Linked DNA regions of Homo sapiens: region 1 is linked to region 2. Evidence: promoter capture Hi-C in 16 types of primary human blood cells and fetal thymus (Javierre and others, 2016). All regions are on one chromosome and are shown on one strand. The core of a region is centred on a gene start or on the middle of the fragment in contact, and the rest is flanking DNA. Distances in the headings are between cores, read along the strand shown. Region 1 holds the start of ZBTB18 (zinc finger and BTB domain containing 18). Region 2 holds the start of KMO (kynurenine 3-monooxygenase).

Region 1 (6,538 bases), core at 1,119-3,618, 2.5 Mb before region 2:
CACCACCAAATCACACGGACAAGACCTAAATGCCAGAAGGAAAATGCACACTTTCTGAACTTCCTCACCCCCGCCAAAGAGCTTCCGACGCATCTCCATCTTCCTTGAACCCAAGTTCTAAAAGCCTTCCTTTAACTACAGTCTCTCACTAAGAATAAGAATTTAGATCTCTTCCAGAAGAAATTTAATTAACTCTACTTATCAAATTATGTCCCACAAAACCTACAAAATAGCTTTAATTTCAAAGGGAACAACTCATATAATAAACAAAGAAAAGTCCCAAACATATCCTGGAACATACAAGAAAACTTGTTCAACCATCCTTTTTATTACTTTTGCTACCTGACTGTGCTTAGAAAGCACAGTTTAAACACACACACACACATTTGGCTGAATCAAGAAAAAAAAATGAAATTGCATAATTAGTCCAGAAATTAGCAAACAACTTACTTTTAAAGTCAGGGTGTTACAACAAAAGCCCTGTGTATAAAAACAGATGTTAATGCCTTCAGATTTGCAGGTATAGCACACATGTACGAGATCAGAAGGAGCTGCACCAACAGATGGAAAAGATCATCTTTACTATGAACAAATCCAAAGATTTTTCAAAACGAACTGAGAAAAAAGTAGTTACATTTCTTTGTAGAAACTGTACTTTCAGAATATTAGGAACCAGAGGGGCTTTACTGAACTCCGAAAATTCTCATCTAAACTTTGATCCGTTGCAAGGCAAAATGAGTTTCATATTGAAATTAATTCAAACTTTTAAAAATAAAGGCATACAGCGCTTAAATAAAACTCAAAAGCTTTACAGGTTCAACGTTTTTTTTTAAGCCTTTTTAGAAAAAGAGAACCTTTTTTTTTTTCCTGGTTCTGCCTTACCTCAGCCAACAGAAAATACTTTGTTTCAATATAATTTGATATATTTCTGTTTTCCCACTAGCTTCTATTCTTGCAAATATTCATCATTGCCCTTGTTTTGTGATGAGGGAAAGTGAAATGGAGGGAGGAGAAAGGCAAAGATGTACAAAGGGTCAGAATTCAACTGCAGTGGGTAAACTCCTGAAAAATAAAGAAGACCCGACTTCCCCTTTCCTGTGACCAGAAGCAAGCCTCCACACCACCCATCTCAGCAAGTGCATTTTGGGAATAGATACACTTAATTTAATATTCAGAAATTACTTCCTTTCTTCTTGTTCTTCTACACTTTGCCCAAGACAGACTAAAACTTTATCCTAACCCCAGACACATTCTGCAAGATGCCACTGCTAGAATAAACTAAGATTTACAATACAATCACTTTAAGTGCCCCACAGCTAACATCAATCCTAATCCTTGAGAAGGCTAAAAATAAAGATTGGAGGGCAGCTCACAAGGTAGCCGTGATCAAATTAGGAGGCTGAGAGGACAGAGAGGGACGAAGAAGGAAGCTTATAAACATCTGATCCAGCTGACTGTGGCCATATGGCAGCTGCTGCCCAGATAAAGAGATTAAGAATAGAGGAGTGCGATTACAGCTGTCTGGCCAATTCAGGCAGCTCAAATCTACAAGTTCTAAATTAGTCGCTAACACAAAAACTCCTGCAAATAATTATTGTTATGCTGAAATAAAAGATCTCTTAAATATATATTTGAAAGAGAAATGAGGAAACCAGTCAAACTATTCTCCTGGGGACAAAAGTTTGGTTTTTTTTTCTTCTTCTTAAAAACCTGCAGTTTCAACAGCACTACAGCTGTATGTTTCAGTAGTGCTGCTCAATGTTTTGAAGAATAAAGTTTCACAGAGGAATTAATTATACAACAATCTAGCTGCTTAACTAGAATAATCTTCTCATATAAGTTTGAATGCTGGATTCCAGTTTACTATTTCCCCACCACCACCACCCCAATCAAATCTAAATAGCAGTGAACAACAAAAAAGCATTTTAATCCAACGTGATTTCCAAAAGCAGCATTTTAAAGCCTTTCTTAACATTTCAAAACTTGAAATATTTGTGTATTAAAGTTATTTACTCGCTCAAGTAAAAGGGATAAAAAATTAAAACTAAACAAGCTCAAGACTTTCAACTCCAGTAAGATGTTCATTTAATACTCAATTTCATATATTATTCCTAAACTGGGTTAGAAAAGTAATGTGATTTTTAAAATTAAATAAACAAAACACCAAAACAGAAATATGCTCAATCTAATCTCTTGCTACTCCTACCTTTAGGACACATAAACCTGATTAAGTCCTTTCCTCTGAGTCCTGCTGGCTCCAGGTCTGTTACATCGGTGGAAAAAAAGCAGACTAAGAGAGACAGATGCAAAGTGGAGATGATGTTAGAGAGGAATGAGATACCTTCTCCACCACAGATCCGCACACACTAACTCCCTGTCTGTGTGTTAGAATAAAAGGCTGAGGGATGGCAGGCTGTCAGCTGCTCTGACATCATGTTCAGATGGAAATGCTACCTCCAGCTGTGCTCCTTTTAATGCCATATGCTACTCCTCTACACTCCTGCCACCAGCTTTTTCTTAGGAGAACTTTTCTCTTCTGTTAGTATAAACAAAATACTTCAAAGTCTTCCTTTTTTTCCAAACTTTCTAACAGAAGAAATTGAAAAACTCAGCATATGGAGTTCTACTGTATTTATGGAATAGCAACACTTCTGTCTTAAGTTGGTGGACTGGCTTACATACTGACAGCACACTCAAGCCACGGTGCTATTCAGGAAATCCAGATTCACTTTTATTCAACTCCAACGTTTAGTTTCTAAAGCAGTTTAGGGATATTTTTAAACCAACCCATTTGACATCTCCAGTCCCATTTCAACATTATTACCGCACTTTTTTATTTTTTTCTGCTGAGATAATGGTATACATGTCTCAAATGTTGGCAGACTTGTTCAGAACTATTACTTCAGACTGGTTCACCTTATTATTTCACTCTTATGTAATTACTTATCTACAACTACCTTCTCAGAAAAATTTCTTACACTGCCACAGTCAATGCAAATTTCAATTCTCGGTACCAACAAGCTGAAACTGCACTTTCTGAAATCCTGGAAAGTACTTCAGTTCAACGAGACCAATTAATAAACTGATACAACCTGCTCCAGTCACTTAAAATGAATGCTGCACCTGCATATCTGATCTTTCTGCTCAGAAAAAGCAGAACCTTGCCTTCCCCTTGATCTGTGTCCCTTAACAATCTTTTTTTTCTTTGGGGGGGGGTCACTCTAATGTTTATGATCACAAGAAAATCTTTGTGTGGGGGGAAGCCAGGTCTAGTAAGTTTGAGAACTTTTCAGCCAGTTTGTGGGTCTTTTCTAATAGCTGATGAAACTGTAACGCGACCCGGGCTGGGCTGACCGGTACCGGGCAGGGTGCTGCGACATCTCTGAATGTCAAATACATCTCCTCAGACTCTTGGGAGGGCGAGGGGTAGAAAAGGAACTGGGGCCTGAGGCGCCAGCGTCCCAGCCCTGGTGATAACCACTTCGTTCCCATTAGAAAGCCGTGGCGGAGAGTTAAAGAGTAACAAAACCCGACGACTCCGTCCTGTCCTTCTCGCTTTCCCAAAGTCACAAACCTAACTTTCTCCAACTTCGCGGTGAGTGACATAATTATGAACACTTAGTCCAGGAGACATCCTCGGGAGATCAATTTCTTCCCAGCCACACCACCTATTCTCCACAAATGCCCTCGACCCATTCCAATATATCAGACATTAATCACCCCATTTACCCAGTGGGGTGGGGGGTGAGTGACAGTTTAATGAGTCCCGGGCACCGCAATGGGCCAGCAACTCCCACTCCACAAATCAACCCCTTCACGTCTCGCTACCGCGGATCCATAGAGGTTTTGTGAGGTTGGGGTTTTGTTTTTCAGAGAGGTGGGGGCGGGGGTGCCGAGTGGGGAAGCAATGCAAATCTTTACGTAGTTCGCCGTGCATAAAACACACGGGGAAAGAGGAAGGTTAAAACCACAGGGAAGGAGGTGGAGGGCGCAGAGCCGGTGCAGCAGGAAAACACCTTAAACAACAGAGGAGAAAACAGACCCGGGTCACGGCAACAACAAAAGAAAAGTCGTAAGAAGCAGCCAGCGGGAGGAGAGTGGTTGCTACCGCTTCCCCGATGCCGCGACGCGCGAGCCCCCGGGGCCTCCGGGCAACTGCACCAGCCCGGGAGGGCCCCCTCCCCCGCCGGCCCCCTCCCCCGGGCGCCACTGCAGCTGCACCGGTCCCCGGAGCCGCGGCCGTCCCGGGCGCCACTGCAGCTGCGGCTGCTCCCAAGCCCCCTCCCCCAGCCCGCCGCCCTCCGCACCCGAGAGGCGCCACCGCAGCTGCACCGGCCGGGAGCCCGCCCCGCGCCGCAGCTGCACCGGCCCGCGGGGGCGCGGCGCGGAGCCGGGAACCCGCACCCCGCCCGACCCCGCAGCTGCAGCGGCCCCGTCCCCGCGCCCGGGCCTCCCGCAGCTGCGCCGCCCCCCGCCGCCCCAACAGCTCCAACCACACAAACTAACTCCACTCGCGGGGGCGCCCCCGACCCGGCCCGCCCTCCGCCCGCGCCGCCCAGCCGGCCGGGGCCGCACAGCTGGCGCCCCCCGCCCGCCGGGGTGCCGGGGCGCGGAGGGGGCGCCAGGTCAGGGGCCAGGGGCCGGCGCCGGGACTCACACGGAGCGGCCCTAAGTCACCGCGTCCCCGCCGCCGCCGCGTCCTCCGCCTCCTCCTCCTCCTCCTCCCGGCCGCCGCCGCCGCCGCCGGACTTGGTGGGCTTCCTCCGGCTCTTGCCCCCCTCCCTCCCGGCCCCCCCACCCCCCAATCCCGGCTCCGTCGCCCGCTCCCCCCCGCCCCTCCCTCCCGCCCACCCCCGCTGGCAGCCGGAGGAGCGCGGCGGAGCGAAGAGGGCCCCACTCTCAACGGCTCCCCATGGCAGCAGCCCAGCGGCGGCCGCAGCCTGCCAGACACAGCGAGGGAGCGAGCGAGGGAGCGAGCGCGGAGCCGCCGGGCCGGGTGGGGGGGCGGGGGCGGGGGGGGGGCGGGCGCGGGGGAGGGGGAGGGGAGGGGGCGGGAGGACGCACCACGCACGCACGCGGCGGCGCCGGCCAGATGTTCCCCCCACCCTCAGTCCGCCCCTCTCCTTCCCCTGCCTCCCTCCCTCCGGGCGTTGGGCTTCTGCGATTGACCGAAAGCGGCTGGACCGGCGCTCCCCGCCCGCCCCCAGCCCTCAGACTCCTCCAATGGGAAGGCGGCTCTTCGGGAAGGCGGAGGGGGTGGTGGGCAGTCGTCGGACTGACAAGGGGGCCCAGCCAATGGGGGTGGCGAGCCGTAGCTGCCCTCCCGCGCGTTCCAATCGCAGGCAGCAACTGTTGGGGTGGGCGGGGCTCGGGCGGGCGGGGATCCGGAGCGAAGCGGCGCGGGGCGGAGTCCTCGGGCGCAGCGGCGGTGGCAGCAGCGGCGCCCCTCTGGGTGACTTGGCCGTGAGAAAGTGAAAGGAGCCCGCAGGCGGCGGCGACAGCTGCGCTGGGAGGGGCTTGTTTCCAGGCTCAGAGGCCCCGCGCACTCTGCGGGTGCGGAGCGAGCTTTTCGGTGTGCACTGTGACAACCACAAACACACTTTTGAACGTAGTGGGGCTTGGCTGCTGCGAGTTACGCAGGTATCCTGGAGAGGCAGGGCACCCGGGGACACGGATGACTCGAGGCCGACTTCGGGTGGCTCTCTCTGCTCCTTCCTGTGGGGGTGAAGACGCCCGGGTCCTCGCCGGCCCGTGCGCAGGGGAGCGGGACCGAGGAGCGCTCTCGCTCCGTCCTGCGGCGTCCCGCGCCCAGGTGCACATCGGGGAGCTGGGGACGCAGGCGACTCAGGCAGTTTCTGGGAGTCGTTCTTACGTCATCATGTCACGGGCAGAACAGGGCAGAGCGCCCGCCTTTCTCGCAAAACCCTCCTGTCCCTTGTGTACTTACACTGTTACAAGTAAAGACTTCCCCAAGTGACCAAATTTTAGAGCATTACAGTAAAATTGGTACTTGCAGATGCCTCAGCTTGATTCCTTAATTGATACGTATCTAGCCACAACTTTAAACTACCGAGGGACGATGTAAGACTGCTGTGTCGCTTTTCTTTCCTTCAAATAAACTTTTACTCGGTACCTGTTCTTGGCAATTAGACTGCGTTAATCACAGCCACAAAGACGTGGAAATGTCTGCCGTCAAGAAATTGGAAATCGTATCGAGGCAAGAATTACAAGTAAAAAGTTGAATAACAAGTGGTGGGGGAGGGGGAATGGCTGAAGAAAATAAAATAGAAAAAAAAAAACAACTTCATAGTGAGGAAGTCAGTCCACTAGTCATTGTCTAATGAAATGTGTTTATTCTTTGCTAACAGAACCCAGACTGGCAAGCCTGTTGCTAACCAACCTGCCAGGAGACCTTTCAACTGGGCAAAATGTGCTTTCACTTTGTTCCAGGTCAAATGGGTAAAGTAGCTGGAAAGTATTGTGTGGGCAAATCAGACATGTTGAATTGCTAATGAAGTAAAAACAGGAGCAGACAGAA
Region 2 (6,495 bases), core at 3,795-6,294:
TTAATATTTGCAAAAAATATAAAGTATGCACTTGAATCAAATTCTGTGTAGACCTCAACCCAGGATTATAAGCCATTTGATGGTTCATATGCACTGAGGACGTTTACTTCAGGGAAAGTGAAAATTCTGGGTGACATTTGATTTCTTTTTTTAGAAAGGAGTAGGTTGAGAACAAAGCTAGAGATCTGTGAGCGAGAAAGTGTGAAAAAGAAGCAGTAGAATTTTAGTGTTAAAAGACTAGCAATCTAGTTTTAGTCCAAGAGGAAGAAACTGAGACCCATAGGGTAAGATTTCCTGAGTGTCCAGCTGGTTGCAAACTCTGCTATTCCCAGTCCCCTCAATGAATAATGTTTTTTCCATCCCATGAAGCTGAGTGAAGAGTAAGTGGTGAGGTGGAAAAATCCTAAGAAGAACAGAACAGAAACACCATTTGGGGACAGTTTGGCATCAAGACCATTTTGAGCCTATAAATCCATGACAGGATTTAACATCTATAGCTGTGAGACATAAACTCTCATAGAGTCAAGGTCAAGTTGCCTCAAAAGCAATTTCATCAGCAGAGGCCACTGACTTGACTTGAATTCCAGGGGGCAGGGCACAATTATCAACAATAAGTCAAAATACGTACAAATCTCCTCACCCTCTAAATACTACTAAATGGAGAACTTTCCTGGGTCAAACATAGGGAGAGTAGATCACAAAGCTCTCTACAGTGGGGTTTCTTTTTTGCAGAAAGGAACAGAAGAAATATTTGAATGATATCCTAAAATACATCTCCAAAATACATGCTAGAATAGTGGACATACATTGCAACAGCAGGAGTCAGCTGAGACTGGAATGCTTAATAGCCCTCTTACCAAGGCTCTTGGCTTCAGTCAAAAAATGGTGTCTTGAGTAGCTTTAGCTGTCACTGAAATGGTGCCTTTTTGCTCTGATCACTTTCGTCATACCTGTAAACACTGAAAACAGTTATCAAAAGCAGTATTTTCTGAGTCTTAAGGACTGAATTCAGATGTGGATTAAGGACACTTGTTTAGCTTAGATGGCCTTTGTTTACTTCTCTGGCTTGTCTACTTCTCTCTCACTTCATAAAGAAAAGAAAACATATCACTCTAACATGAAGTAAGGCAGTTTGTATGGCAGTTTTTTTGTAATGCAGGTTTTTTTTGAAATGATGTGCTAGAATTGAAAAGCTACACTGTAGAACTCCTTCCAGCATGCAAAATTGAGATTATTTTCCAAATCCTTTTTTAAGTTACTCATTGAAAGGACTACATTCCTCATGACATAATTGTGTTAAAAAAAAAACTCTTTAAAAATTTCCCATAACTTCTAAAGGAGTGATTCTCCACTTTGTTCTGAAATCAAACTCATGCACAGAAAATATTTTAGTGTGGCTCACATTATAAGGCACTGGGAAACCTTTATAAAGGTAGCAGGAGCCAAAGATAAAATAATCTTTAGATCTACGAAGTAAAAAGCTTCTATGGGGAATAAACTATGCATAACAAAATTTTAATAGAAGGCAGCATTTGATAATGACAAACAAAGCCCTGTGGGCATTTAAAGAGAGGAGAAGCCTTCACAGGTTGATTGTCCTGCAGTTACCTTCTGGAACTAGCAGGAGGTAATCCCATTGGCTGGAGAAGGGATGGGGGAGTTGTAATTCACACAAGGAGGAAAATATCAGTCAATACAGGGGTCTTTCTAAATATTTAGGTCAATGTTCTTGAAATGCTATTTTAACATCTTTTCCCACTTGTTTTTCAATATTTAAACTTTACCTGGTTTATGATTATGGTTTAGTTTCTTTTACCTTTTGTTTCTCATTAGGAGTTTTTTTACTGGTTTGTTGATCTCTTTGACTGAACATGTCTTCAAAGAAAGGAAATCAACTGGTTTAACCCAATATCAGATGATCACTACATCAGAGCAAGAATAACTTCTCAGGGTGACTTTTCATTAGGCAAGTTTACTAGACATGGTAAGCTACCACTGATAAGAATTGAGGGAAGTTCACTATATTTTTTGGATGTCTAAGTAAAGGTTCTCAACTCTCATTTTTTTTTCTAGGGGCCAGGGGAGAGCCTTTAATGTGTTAGACAGTATAAGGTACTGGGATATGGTTTATGGAAAGGAGGAGGTAGGAAGGGAGGGTGGAAAAAAAAACAGAAGAAGATGGGCAAAAATGTAATCTTGTCCTCTATGTAAAGACATTAACCTTCTTGAATTGCTCTATTTAGTCAATACTTTTAAAAATAATTTTCTCAATATTCAAACATGCATCTGTTATTATTTTTTCACCTTTATATCATTAAGTTTTCTCATTCCTCTCATTTATTCATCCACCCAATACATAATGTTAGGCATAATTACAGCCTCTGGAATACATTGGTTAATAAGAGTTTATATCCTAGTTGGAGTAGATATCTAAGAAACAGGTTAAAAAAAAAAACCCAAAGTGTGTAATTTCCGATACTGGTAGATAAGATTAACAAATAAAAAGGGAAAGGGGTGAAGCCAGAAAGGCAGATAGGCTTAGTTCAGACAAGACCTTTGGTAAAGAGTTTGGGTTTTATTTTATTTGTAATGGGAGATCATTGGAAGATTTTAAGCAGGGGATGATAATGATCAGACTCATGTTTTAGAAGGGTGTTTCTGGCTGTGGTGTGTAGTATGGACTATAAGGGAAAAGGAGTTAAAGCTGGGAGACTAATTTGGAGCTTGTTGCAGGAATAAGGATGGCGGATGATAATGGCTTGGGCCAGGATGGTTGTAATGGCTAGAATTTAAATGTATTTTGGATATAGAGCCTCAAGGCTTACTGATGGAGTGAAAGAAGAATAAGCGTTTGCACAAAATGACAATAGGAATCAAACATGATGCGTAAGCATGGACTTGAACAATAGGATGGATAGAATTCTTTTGCAGAGGAATTTTAGTTGCTCCCTAATACGCAAGTAGTAATTTTTGTCTCCTATTTTCCAGCATATGTATGACGTGGTTACATGATGACAATCTCATGTTATTCAGGGAGAAATCCATGGATGACACCCACATTTTTATGCCCCCCAAAACCATATATACAATCACATATTTGTTATCTCTCCCTTGGATTTCTAAGAGACAATTTTTAAAATGAGACATCACTGCTGCCACCTTAGTCCAAGTCTTGAGCTAACGTAACAGCCTCCTAACTGGTCTATCTTGTCATCTTAAAATGTTCCTAGTCATTCTCCACATAATGGTCCAAGGGACCTTTTAAAATCACAACTTAATTTCCTGCCTAAAATCCTCCAATAGTTTCCCATTGTAATTTGAACAAAATCTGATCTTCTTGCCTGGACCTCTAAGATCCTACAAGATCTGGTCTGTCAGCTTTTCTGGCCTCATCAGCTACTCTTCTCTGGCCTCAGGCAGTTCCTGCCTTTCTTTCTGCTCCTTGAACTTGGGCAGCTCATTATTGCCTGAGGGTTTCTCTTCCTGCTGTTCCCTCTGCCTGAAATGCTCTTTCTCAAGATCTTCACGTAGTTAGTTCTATCTGATCATTCAGGTCTCTGGTCACATGTCCCTTCAGCAGAGCAGCTGTCCCTGACCACATTCTAAACAGGTACTCCCAAAGATACTCTCTACAGCACTACCCTGTTTTCGTTTCTTTCATAGTGCTTCTCTTTAACTGAAATTGTCTTATTTGTTTTCTTCTTCCTTGTCTTTTTCTTCTCTGGAATTCTCACCCTCGCATCCCTACTACCTAAAACAATATTGGTACATAGTAATCAGATTTTGTTGAACACATGAATTCTCATTTTGTGCAACATTTTGATAGGACAGATTGGACACAAGCCTAGTATGAAGCAGTGACGACACATGTCCCAACCAGTGACCAACACATCATGTGATAGCATTTCTAAATGAAAATTTAGAATCAGAAATATTAAAAGAACTGTTCTAGCACTTTGGGGAAAAGACACTAAGGAAGGCAGAACAAAAGACAGCATATACTGTATAAATACATGTGTGGCATAAAATATACCATCTATATTCAGCCTAGAACAGTGTTACGCCCTCAATAAATTTTTTGTTGAGTGGATATATGAATAATTAATGAAAAGTCTCCAAATGATTTGACCAAAGGTGATAGGGAAATGATTTAACCTTGACTAACTGGGATGTTTGTATTCTGAAACAGAAATTCTGCTGAGATGGGAAAAAGCAAAGTTGAATCGGAGCAGACCCATGTTAAACAGAACTACCTTTGGCACCATAACTATGAAAGCAGAGAGTGACCTCTCCTTCCGTCTTGTTAGGTATGGGGGAAGCCCCAGCACCTTTACGTCACGTGCTCAGTGAGAGGTGAACACCTCACTCCACTGTCTTAGGTGCTCCACTGGAAGAGTCAAGTAAGTCAGGCGACCACATAAATCTTATTCCCAATTACTCATATAACTAGTGAACATTCAACATGATACTTTGACGTTAGCTTCATGTTTCTTGACCCTTTTATTCTCATTAGACAGCATTAACTGAGTTATTAAACAAAGCGGAACAAATGTTTTTATTAAAATGAATATTGAGACTAATTCCTGTTCCTAAAAACATAGCCAATTTGGGGATAAAATCAAATTCAATTTGCATTATTTTTGCTTTTTAACAAATCCTAAACCAAAATGATGAGGGAAAACAGAAACCTTTGTATTTAATGGCTATAAAATACCTTTCCTGAAAAAGAACAGATTAAAACTCATACTATATTAAATCTATGAAAATAAAAATATTAAAAAAATAAACAAAATAGCTGTATTTAAATATCAGAGTTTTCACAAGAAAATTAACAATTTGCAGAAGTGACGAATAATAATCATTACGAGTAATAATAGTTAATATAATACCACCAACAATAGTAATCCATCTGAAAATTCTTACCAAGCCACCACCAATGACAGCTACTTTTTTCCTTTGAATGACAGATGAGTCCATAACTGCTGAAGTATTTTTCACAATTATTGTTGCTTCTGTCACTGAGTGACACTGATTTCTGTGTCTCCTACACACTGATTTCTCTGAGTTTTTATACTGCCCCAAGCCTAGTGCATTCATGAGCCAGCGGCAATGTTTAGTCAGGGCTAATTTCCCTTGACAGTATTAACCCATTAGTTGGCCAAAGTACAATCAGCTCAGCTCTAAGAAAAAATAAATCCATTACAATAACCAAATTTTTTAAAAAATCCATCCAATTGGAGACACTCTATTTTTTCTATCTTCTGTGTAAGACACAGAAATTTTTAAGCAGTCTTGTGGCTTTTCTTCTTCTTTTTCTACAGCATATATTCTTAGTTTCGTTTTCATTCATGATTAACCATGAATGGAGCCCTTCTCATCTGAAGTCCAAAAACATCTTATACCTCCCTTAGAGAGTAAGATGACATGGTTTCATAATTCATCTGTGGATCATTTTTGTGGTTAAGACCAATCAAAAATTTCATCTAAAGGGTCCTCATGGATTGTTTTTAACAGGCTCTACCAGGGAAAATTCTCTGCAAGGTCTTAATATTCTCCCGATCAACATTTTGAATTGTGTAACTGACCATACTTCCCCTTTTTTTTTTCAGCCCAGATGCTAGAAAATTTAGAATCTAATTTTAGAATCGAAAATTTAGAGTCTAATTACCACTAGGGGAGATGACTGACACAACGCTTCTGTAAACTCATTCCCGACTTCATATTATCTATTCACTTTTTTGTCTTTTTCACTCCGTTTTAAATGTTATACTTTTGTGCATGATTTGCGAATGGCAATTGTTTTCTGGAACATGATGTGGTGTAATGTAAAATAAGAACATAAATGAAGTTGTTTCTTCACTTCCTGTTAAGCACATAAAGAATTCAGAACGTTTTTTTCCCTGGTTAGGAACTAGAGTTAAATGGCATTCAATAGTGACCCCTTGTGGATAAGCATGATTAGGTATTTTATTTATTTTGAATAGGTAATACATTAACATGGCATGAAATTAAAGACACAAAAGAGTACACGGTGAATAGTAATCCTGCTAACCTTGACCCTTGGCCACCTATTCCTCCTGCCCAAAGACAACAACTGTTTTGGTGTGTGGGTTACCGTATTCTTCTACACGTTGATTATGTCTTTCTTGTTCTTCCTCTCTCTCCTTTTCTCTCTCTCTTTCTCTCACTCTCTCATTCCCTTCCTTCCTTTCTTTTTAAACATACATTTAAAAACTTTTTCCACATCATATTTCTCACTTTACAACATATAGCTTGAGAATTCTTCAATATCAATATGTAGAGAATATGTATCAATTCCTCAGTATCAATATGTATCATTGTTAAAAAATCTTTTAAAAATTATGAACTATAACACAAATGAACAGTATAATAAGTTACTGTAAAGCAAGTATCCATGTAACTACCATTTAGGTGCAGAGAGAGAATATTGCCAGAATCCCAGAAGTCTAACGTGCCCCCTGTTAATCACCCCTC

The links. The method cuts DNA at HindIII sites, captures the fragments that hold promoters and counts their contacts. A CHiCAGO score of 5 or more calls a contact.
Region 1: the fragment with the promoter of ZBTB18 here is called in contact with the fragment with the promoter of KMO in region 2 in 1 of 17 cell types (monocytes); the score reaches 8.6 in monocytes.

The regions. Positions count from the first base shown.
Region 1 is chr1:244,047,113-244,053,650 of GRCh38, reverse strand. ZBTB18 (zinc finger and BTB domain containing 18) reads right to left here and starts at 2,368. Exons shown (of 2, transcript NM_205768.3): 1 at 2,207-2,368. The coding sequence starts at 2,219. It overlaps LINC02774 (long intergenic non-protein coding RNA 2774), which reads right to left. Exons shown (of 12, transcript NR_033883.1): 12 at 6,334-6,538. It overlaps LOC124904570 (a long non-coding RNA gene), which reads left to right and starts at 5,410. Exons shown (of 2, transcript XR_007066975.1): 1 at 5,410-5,640; 2 at 6,054-6,538. RefSeq lists enhancers at 1,092-1,593, 3,310-3,359, 5,570-5,729 and silencers at 3,040-3,129, 5,280-5,399. The HindIII fragment of the contact is 5,583 bases long and covers 1,433-6,538 here.
Region 2 is chr1:241,530,927-241,537,421 of GRCh38, reverse strand. KMO (kynurenine 3-monooxygenase) reads right to left here and starts at 5,044. Exons shown (of 15, transcript NM_003679.5): 1 at 4,924-5,044. The coding sequence starts at 4,977. RefSeq lists an enhancer at 5,312-5,461. The HindIII fragment of the contact is 7,761 bases long and covers 1,484-6,495 here.